Regions from separate parts of the Homo sapiens genome. Here region 1 is linked to region 2. The links are contacts of gene promoters, found by promoter capture Hi-C in blood cells and fetal thymus (Javierre and others, 2016). All regions are on one chromosome and are shown on one strand. The core of a region is centred on a gene start or on the middle of the fragment in contact, and the rest is flanking DNA. Distances in the headings are between cores, read along the strand shown. Region 1 overlaps PPP1R16B (protein phosphatase 1 regulatory subunit 16B). Region 2 holds the start of FAM83D (family with sequence similarity 83 member D).

Region 1 (4,338 bases), core at 1,277-3,776, 110 kb before region 2:
AGACCCTCCCTGTTTCAGAGGACATCCAAACACAGGCTTACATTTCCTTTTACATGGGGGCAAAGTTTGGGGCCAGGGTTCAAATGCTGGCTCTGCCTCCACTGGCTTTGGGGCCTAGGGAAATTTTTTCACTTCCTTGAACCTTAATTTCTTCATCTGGAAATAAAGATGAAGAAATAAGTTGCTAATTTTAGCATCTTCAATAAGTTGCTAAATAGTAACTCACAAACACAATTCTGAATTGTCATAAGGATTTGTAATCATATGGAAAATGCTTGGCTTCCAAGCTGTAGATAATATTGATGTAATATCCAGCAGATTTTTCTCTGCAGTACTTATAATTGTGATTATATGGTTATATGTGAGCATTACTCTTTTAGTCTTCTGTTTCATCCACTAGACCTGTGGTTCTCAACTTGGGGCAGTTTGACCCTCCCCAGGGGATATTTGGCAATGTCTAAAGACGTTTTTGGTTGTTACAACTTTTCGGGGGATAGTGGGGGAGAGGAGCTACTGACATCCAGTGAGTAGACACCAGGGGTGCTGCTAAATATCCTGTGGTGCACAGGAGAGCACCCCCACAACAGAAAATGATCTGATCCCAAATATCAATAGTGCTGAGGTTAAGAAAGACTACACTGGACGATGAGCCCCATAAGGTCCGTGACTGTGTCCAATTCATTCAGCTGTGTGTCTCCAGTTGGCCAGCGTGATCAGCATGATGTCCAGCACACAGGAGACAATCAATATGCATTAAAGGAATGAATGAGGACTTGGAAGGCCTTATGTCCCCTGGAGTCCCAGGGGTTTAGCTTGTGGAACATTTTGAATAGGCAGAAGAGATTTAGATGAACTTGAATGATGAACAGCCAATTAGTAACTCAGGCCAAAGACATTCAGACCGAGCTCTCTGTTTTCCTTCCCAAGCAGGTGCTTGGGGGCCCAGATTATCTGAATTGTTCCTGCCATCACCACTGCATTTTACCCATGTAGATACAGGACCCGTCTTTATCTGGAAAGTAGGCTGGGGCAGAGGAGCATAGGTGCTGTCAGCTGGGCCCTTGGGATTTGCCAAGCTGGGGCACAGCTGCTTGTCAGCTTCCTGTTTTGTCCCTTTCTAGTGGAATGAAGGAAACCCACTGAATGGCTATTTTCCACTGACATTTACAGCAATGTGATAGGCCTTGGATTAATGAGGTCAAACTGCAGTGTGAAATCTGCCTGATAACTTGAAGCTTGGCCAACGGGAAGACATCGCTTGTTTTCTTTGGACCGTTTGATGTCCCTGGATGGCTTTAGGCAGGAAAGCAGGGGTCTCAATTCTGTACGAAAGAGGAGGGTGTTTTACTTCCTGGAATTATAGAGGCCAGAGGTGTCTCTTTTTCAATTTATTGGGAAGGTTTATTTTAATATGGACTTAGAAATAAATAACTTATTAAAGTGAAGGTTCACCTGGAGCCTTAGGCTGGCTGCTAAGTGTGAGTCTGGGCTGTTGAAGGGACTGTGCTGTTCTTCTGGGTCTCTGTAGGAGTTTGAAGGAGAAGACTGGCCCCAAAGGGTGTTTGAACAGGTTAGATGTGCCCATTGGTTAGAACTTACTTGGATAGGGAGAAGGGATCTAGGGCGTATCCACAAACTTGCATATGGATCCCCTTTGGTTTCCTGCTAAAATGCAGAAACTGACTCAGTAGGGCTGGGTATGGAGTTTTCTGCATTTCTACCAAGCTCCCAGGGGGTGTCAAGCTGCTAGTCTGTGAACTGCACTTTGAGAAGCAAGGGTATGGGAGACCCCAAGTCTACAGGTGAGGGTTCCCTGGTGCAAACCGCTTAAGCATGAAAGCAAATGCAGCCTGTTGTGCCTGTTCACACAGCCATCTGCTGTGCTGGCTGGCTTGCGGAGTCACAGATGTTCACTGTGCCCCTTCTCTGTGTGCCCAGGCCTGGGACCAGACTTGACAAAGAGGATGCTTGGTCTCAAGGAGCAACTCAGACAGCCAGAATGTCAGCTAGAATGATGAGCTTTGAGTACTTTCAAAAACATGTATCCAGGTACATGGTGTTCCTGGGTCATCTGGTCACCTGGGACTTGTGAGAAGTACAGATGCCTGGGCCTTAGCCCAGTCCACCTGTGTTAGAATCAGCCAATATAGGGCCCTGAAAGTCTGTATTTTCTCAAAGTGTGCCAGGTGATTCTGATTCACAGCCAGACTGATGGAAGGGAAGGTGGGAGGAAGAACTGCCAGTACATGCAGGTTAATTGCTCAGCAGGACCTATGTAAGGTTGTAGAGTTGTGTATTGCTGATGGGCACAGTGGCACTCGGCTAAAGGAGAGGCTGAAATCTAGCCTGTGGATCCACTTGCCAAGCTCTGCACCCTGCAGGGTTGCATCTGCTTAGAGGGACGGGCACCTTTTTCTTAATATTCATCATAATCACTTGGTACTTATTATGAGCCAGGTGCTGTCTACTTAACTCCTTTAGTCCTCCTAACAACTCTAAGGGGTGACATCATCATCATCATCATTATTATTATTATTATTATTATTATTATTATTATTATTATTATTTTGAGACACAGTCTCACTCTGTCGTCCAGGCTGGAGGGCAGTGGTGCCATCTCGGCTCACGGCAACTTCTGCTTCCCGGGTTCAAGTGATTCTCCTGCCTCAGCCTCCTGAGTAGCTGAGATTACAGGCACCCGCCACCACTCCTGGCTACATTTTGTATTTTTAGTAGAGAAGGGGTTTCACCATGTTGGCCAGGCTGGTCTCAAACTCCTGACCTCAAGTGATCCACCCGGCTCGGCCTCCCAGGGTGTTGGGATTACAGGCATGAGCCACTGTGTCTGGCCAGGTGTGACTTTAGTGCTACTCTGATTTTACTGTTCAGGAAAGTGAAGCAGAGAGGTTCAATGTCTTACTCAAGGTCACACAGCCAGTAAATGGAAAAGTCAGGATTCCATTTCAGGACATCCGGCTTCAAAGTCCTTGTACTGAATCATTACACTCTCTGGCCCTTTCTTTGCATAAAAATGCTGTCTTCTCTTTATGGGGCTATCCCTACTCTGAGGGAGTACCTTTTTTCTTGTCCTTCCTTCAGAGGGGGGAAGGCTAGCAATGACCTTGGCTGGCTTTAGAGTCAGGTACGGGTTTGATTCCTACCTCCAGCACCTACTGCAACCTTGAGTAAGTTACATGTGTGTATTTGCTGAGCCACAATTTCCCCATATGTAAAACAGGAATAATAATAGTATAATATAAATTGATATGATTAGGCATTTAGCCTCTGCTTGGCAGGTAGGAGGTACCTGATACATGCCAACTATTCTTATGGCATTATTATCATTAGAGTTAGTCCCTAGGAGTATTCAGGAGCTAGGGAAATAGGTGAGCAAAGCACTGTGTCATTATGTCCCCAGGAGCTGGGTCATTCATTTTGTTCACTAGGTTACTTATGGCCATTACTTACCTGGGCATCCCTAGTCTCCTCCGCTTCTTGGCCCCAGAGTCTGTGCCAGCCTGGAGAGTTCTCAGAATGTCTTAGTTCAGACTCTTAGTCAGAACTGCCTTTGTTTCCTCACATCCAAGAACAAGTAAAACATACAAATTTTGACACTTATTCTCTTTAGGTCTCTTGACTCTTTTTGGTGACTTTCTCTGTCTCCTGTTTTCTTTCTGGAACTATTGCTGTCGTTGGCTATCCCATGGACTGGATAGAGAGGAAATGTTGCCTTATAAACATTGCCAATTACCTTATAAAAATATAGGGAAGATTTTCACCAAAATGTCATTCATTTTTTTTCTTTTATATATAAACTTAAGCTTTTGTTTTCCTATGGCTGTATGTCATGCTTTTTAATTACACAAAGTATATAAGTGTATCATAAGTAAACTTTCCCCATCTTCTCAGCCACTCATCCCTTTTCCCCGGAATAAATCTATAAATGTTTTATGTATTTTTCCATAAATTTCATATGCATATATAAACCCATATTCATTTACATGTTTATCCATTTTTCTTTTTAACACAACTATACAAAACTCTCCTGAGATCTTCTTTTTCAGCTAATTTATCTGAGCACATGCCAACACACAGATATACCTGGATCTTTAAGGCTATCTGATAGTCCAGTGATAAAAATGTACCATCATTTGTTTTCTAGTTTCTTGATGATGGCTAAGATAGTTTCCAGTTTTTTTCCTCCTACAAATGTATAATGTTGCAACATCCTTGTTTGAACAGTGTATATATCTTTGTATACTCTACATACTGATGATTTTATTCATAAGGAAAATTCCTGGCAGTTTCAACTGTGATAGACATTGCTAACCTGTTCTC
Region 2 (4,506 bases), core at 922-3,421:
AAAAAAAAAAAAAAGAAGGTGCTCTCTTGCAGCCTCCCGGACCCTGGATACCAGCGCAGGGACACATGGAAGTCCCCACACTTATTCTTGAGAAACTTCACAAAGGGATGGGGATGGGGAGAGGAGAGGTAGAGAGGGAGAGGCGTCTCAACAGCGGCAGGCATTCATCCATTTAAAAAGGTTATTGGTTGCTAAATAATAATGGTAACATCTCACATTTATGACCCACTTTTCATTTACATAAAAAAGATGACGACTGAAAATTGACTGTTGGATTTAGCTCTGTGGAACTCATGATGAACCTGACAAGAGGTTTTGGTAAAGCAGTGGGGGTTTTAGCCTGATTGAAGAGGGCTGGAAGGGAACTGGAGACAGCAAGTATAGACAACTGGTTTGAGGGTTTCTTTTCTTTTCTTTTCTTTCTTTCTTTTTCTGAGACAGGGTCTTACTCTGTCACCCAGGCTGGGGTGCAGTGGTGTGATCATAGTTCACTACAGCTGCAAACTCCTGGGCTCAAGTGATCTCTTGCCTCAGCCTTCCCACTGGCTGGGACCATCATGAGCACTGCCATGCACTAAAAGTTAGGCGCACCACCATGCCCAGCTAACTTTTGTATTTTTTTGTAAAGACAGGGTCTCACTATGCTGCCCAGGCTGGTCTCAAACTCCTGGGCTCAAGTGATCCTCTTCCCTTGGCCTCCCACAGTGCTGGGATTACAGGTGTAAGTCACCATGGCCAGCCACATCTGAGATTCTATGCTGCAAAAATAAGAAGTGAGATGGGGAGCTTTAGAGGAATGTAGGGTCAAGAGAGGGTTGTTTTAAGATGAAAAATATTTCAGCATGCTTGTAGGCTGATAGAAATGAATCGGTAAAGAGGGAAGCTGATGTTCCAGGAGAAAGAAGAAGATTGCTGGAGCGATGCTGGTGAGTAGTAGAGGGGCTGGAAATGCCCAGGCAGAGGGGTTGGGGTTGGATGGGCACAGGCACAGTTCATCAATGCCCAGTATACGGGCAGAGATGCAGACAGGAAGGTAGACTAGATGGCCGCACGTGGACGTTCCCTTCTTACTGTTTCTGTGTTCTTGCTGACATGGAAGACAAGCTGTCAGAGAGGAAAAGGTAGAGAGAATGAGGGAAATGCGGCCTACCAGGCAGTTTTTTTGTTTGTTTGCTTTTGTTTTGTTTTGTTTTGTTTTTAGATGGAGTTTCGATCTTGTCGCCCAGGCTGGAGTGCAGTGGTGCTATCTCGACTCACTGCAACATCCGCCTCCCGCGTTCAAGTGATTCTCCTGCCTCAGCCTCCCGAGTATCTGGGATTACAGGCGTACACCAAGACACCTGGCTAATTTTTGTATTTTTAGTAGAGACGGGGTTTCACCGTGTTGGTCAGGCTAGTCTCAAACGCCTGACCTTAGGTGATCCGCCCTCCTCGGCCTCCTAAAGTGCTGGGATTACAGGCGTGAGCCACCGCGCCCGGCCTCCTAGCAGGCAGTCTTACGGATTATGAATTTAAAACATGACCAGTCAGTAAGCATGGTTACGCTCTTTTTGTTTTTTCTTCAGCCCTGTAGGGCTGCCGGGGTGCAGGTGGAAAGTAGGGTATAACCACGGTTGGTTGGGGTTTTACAAGGCAAAAATCGATGAAATGAGAGAAGACTACCCGAGGGTGTAATCAAAGGAGCAGTCCTAATACGATGAGCCGGTATTCTTTGAATGAATGAATACATGGTTAAAGGCAGGTGATAAAGGCGATATGGTTGGCCATGCCAAAGCACTGAGAGCCTAGGAGCAGCGTGGCCAGAGTCTCCGGGAGTCGGCACCTGCCTCTCCTCGTTGTCTAGGCCTGACTGTCCCTGGCCTTGCACGGCCGCGCAGCGGGGCGACCGGCAGGGGGCGCGCTGGGATGGCCAGGAGCTCGGCTCTCCCCGCTCTGTCCCTGCTCTGCGGCCCGCCTCGCCCCTGCAAGTTTAAATTCCTCTTAGCAAGCCCAGCATCGCAGCCAATAACGCATCAGGGGGCGGAGCCGTAGAGGCTTGCGCCCCGCCTCGCTCCGCTATTGGAAGGAAAGCAGCCAATGGGAGAGCCGAGGCGGGGAGGTGCGGCCAATGGCGCGGGCCTGTTTGATTCAAAGGTTGCCTATAAAGCGGGACTGCACGCCGGTTTTTGTCCGAGGGCTGTCGAGTCCGAGCGCCGCCATGGCTCTGCTGTCCGAGGGCCTGGACGAGGTGCCCGCCGCCTGCCTGTCGCCGTGCGGGCCGCCCAACCCGACCGAGCTGTTCAGCGAGTCACGGCGCCTGGCTCTGGAGGAGCTGGTGGCGGGCGGCCCCGAAGCCTTCGCGGCCTTCCTGCGACGCGAGCGCCTGGCTCGTTTCCTGAACCCCGATGAGGTGCACGCCATTCTGCGCGCGGCGGAGAGGCCGGGAGAGGAGGGCGCGGCGGCGGCGGCGGCGGCCGAGGACTCGTTCGGCTCCTCGCACGACTGCTCTTCGGGCACCTACTTCCCCGAGCAGTCGGACCTGGAGCCACCGCTGTTGGAGCTTGGCTGGCCCGCCTTCTACCAGGGCGCCTACCGCGGCGCCACGCGTGTCGAGACGCACTTCCAGCCCCGCGGCGCTGGCGAAGGTGGCCCCTACGGCTGCAAGGACGCTCTGCGCCAGCAGCTCCGCTCGGCGCGAGAGGTGAGCGGCCCTCCAGGGCCCTGGGTCGCACGGGAGACCCCCTTCAAGAATGGGAAATTGAGGCCTGCTGGGAGTACGGGCCGGGGCCACTACCTCCTCTGCGCCCTACCGGAAGCGCGCGCGGGCTAGGTGGTCCCAGGGTCTCCGACTCACACCCCACTCTGCGTGTCTCCCCCGGATCCCCCGGGCCGCTCCTCGTGGCAGGGGATAGTGGGAAAGCCTCGGTTCCCAAGGATGCGAATTGTGCCCGGGTTCCATCTCCTAACGTTCATATCCCTGAAGGAGGGACCAGAAGTACTCTGAGTTCCAAATTTCAGTTAAAATCAAACTTGGAAAATTGCCTATTTCCCTGTCTGTCAGCCAACGCTAGATCCCACTTTCAGGAGCTTCTTAGGAGACTCATTACCAAAGAACTTACGCAGGGAAAGTTCCAGAAAGATGGTCTCCAGAGACAACTACGGGGCATTAGGAAGCAATTATTATTGCTAATTACTTTCATGCATCTTTTGCTGTAAAAAGCAGATAAACACGAGAGTGGCAAAGTGAGAGCCCTGCCGCTTTTTCTTTCTTGTCTTTTTTTTTTTTTTTTTTTTTTGAGACAGATTCTCTTTTGCCCAGGCTGGAGTGAAGTGGTGGGATCTCAGTTCACTGCAACCTCCGTCCCCCGGGTTCAAGTGACTCTCCTGCCTCAGCCTCCCAAGTAGCTGGGATTACCGGTGCCCGCCACCACGCCCGGCTAATTTTTGTATTTTTAGTAGAGACGGGGTTTCTCCATGTTGGCCAAGCTGGTCTCGAACTCCTGACCTCAGGTGATCCACCCGCCTCGGCCTCCCAAAGTGCTAGGATTACAGGCGTGAGCCACCGCACCCGGCCCCCTGCCGCTTTTTCTACTGCCAGAGACTGGAGGGGAAACTGGGGCAAGGGGTTTGTTTTCCATAGGCTGGGTCTGTGCCAGATTGCAGTGGTCTCCTAAAATGCAGATACATTTGCATTAGATCGGCTTCTGTATTCATAGTGGGTTTTGGTCCTACTGTCTGACTCTTAGTATGGCATGGTCATGGGTGCAATGGAGGTCTTGTCTGCTTGCCAGCCTCGATAAAGCTGCAGCAGGGTGCTGGGGATCAAGGAGGAAGAAGGCAGCCTGCAGGTGGGTGTGGCACATAGAGTGTCGTGGCAGACACCTTGGTCTGGAGCCATGGTCAGGTTGCTTGCTGACTGGCAGTGCCCAGCTCCCTGGCTATCTGCCTGTGCCAGGGACATGGCAGATAAAGCCCCAGCCATGTTAAGACTTGTTAGGGCTGGTACCTGAGTGTGTCTGAGTGTGGGTGAAGATACCAGTGCATTGTCAGGTTGACATGTCCAAGCCCCGACTCTCACCAATGTTCTTAATGTTCTTTCCCTGACTGGTGGGGTTTCAGTGGTAGTGGATACAGTGACCTAGTGCCTTGCCTTTGAGGGAGTGGTTGTGGGCTGCAGCTAGGCTCTTACCAGCCCTGAGGTGCTTTGGGTGGACTGAGGGTTTTTTGATGCAGCAGACATTTTCCTTGCGGGTTCAGTGAAAAGATTAAAAAGATGGAAAAGGCAGACTTGTGTAGGTATGCATCCCCAAAGCTCATGTCCAGTAGAACTTGAGCACTTGGAACCTGAAAAATGTAAAGAACTGGTCTGTATAGTGAGAGCTGTGGATTGTTCTAGTCTTTTGCCCAGCCCCAAATTTTAGTGATAGCAAAAGGGCACTGGAACTAGAGGCCAGAGGGAAACTATTAAACTCACGTGCTGGCGTGAGGAGGGGATGGAGCCAGGAGCTCAGACTCTCCCTCATCTCA

Evidence for each region. Contacts are between HindIII fragments. The CHiCAGO score rates a contact against its expected background, and 5 or more counts as called.
Region 1: a contact is called between a fragment that was not itself captured here and the fragment with the promoter of FAM83D in region 2, in 4 of 17 cell types (naive B cells, total B cells, total CD8 T cells and 1 more). The highest score is 8.0, in naive B cells.

Annotation. Positions count from the first base shown.
Region 1 is chr20:38,811,246-38,815,583 of GRCh38, forward strand. All of the region lies in intron 1 of PPP1R16B (protein phosphatase 1 regulatory subunit 16B), which reads left to right. Among named protein-coding and RNA genes, the nearest start is that of PPP1R16B, 7.7 kb to the left of the region's middle. The HindIII fragment of the contact is 2,586 bases long and covers 1,234-3,819 here.
Region 2 is chr20:38,924,246-38,928,751 of GRCh38, forward strand. FAM83D (family with sequence similarity 83 member D) reads left to right here and starts at 2,172. Exons shown (of 4, transcript NM_030919.3): 1 at 2,172-2,680. The coding sequence starts at 2,198. RefSeq lists a silencer at 1,790-2,149 and enhancers at 2,260-2,359, 3,745-3,834. The HindIII fragment of the contact is 27,857 bases long and covers 1-4,506 here.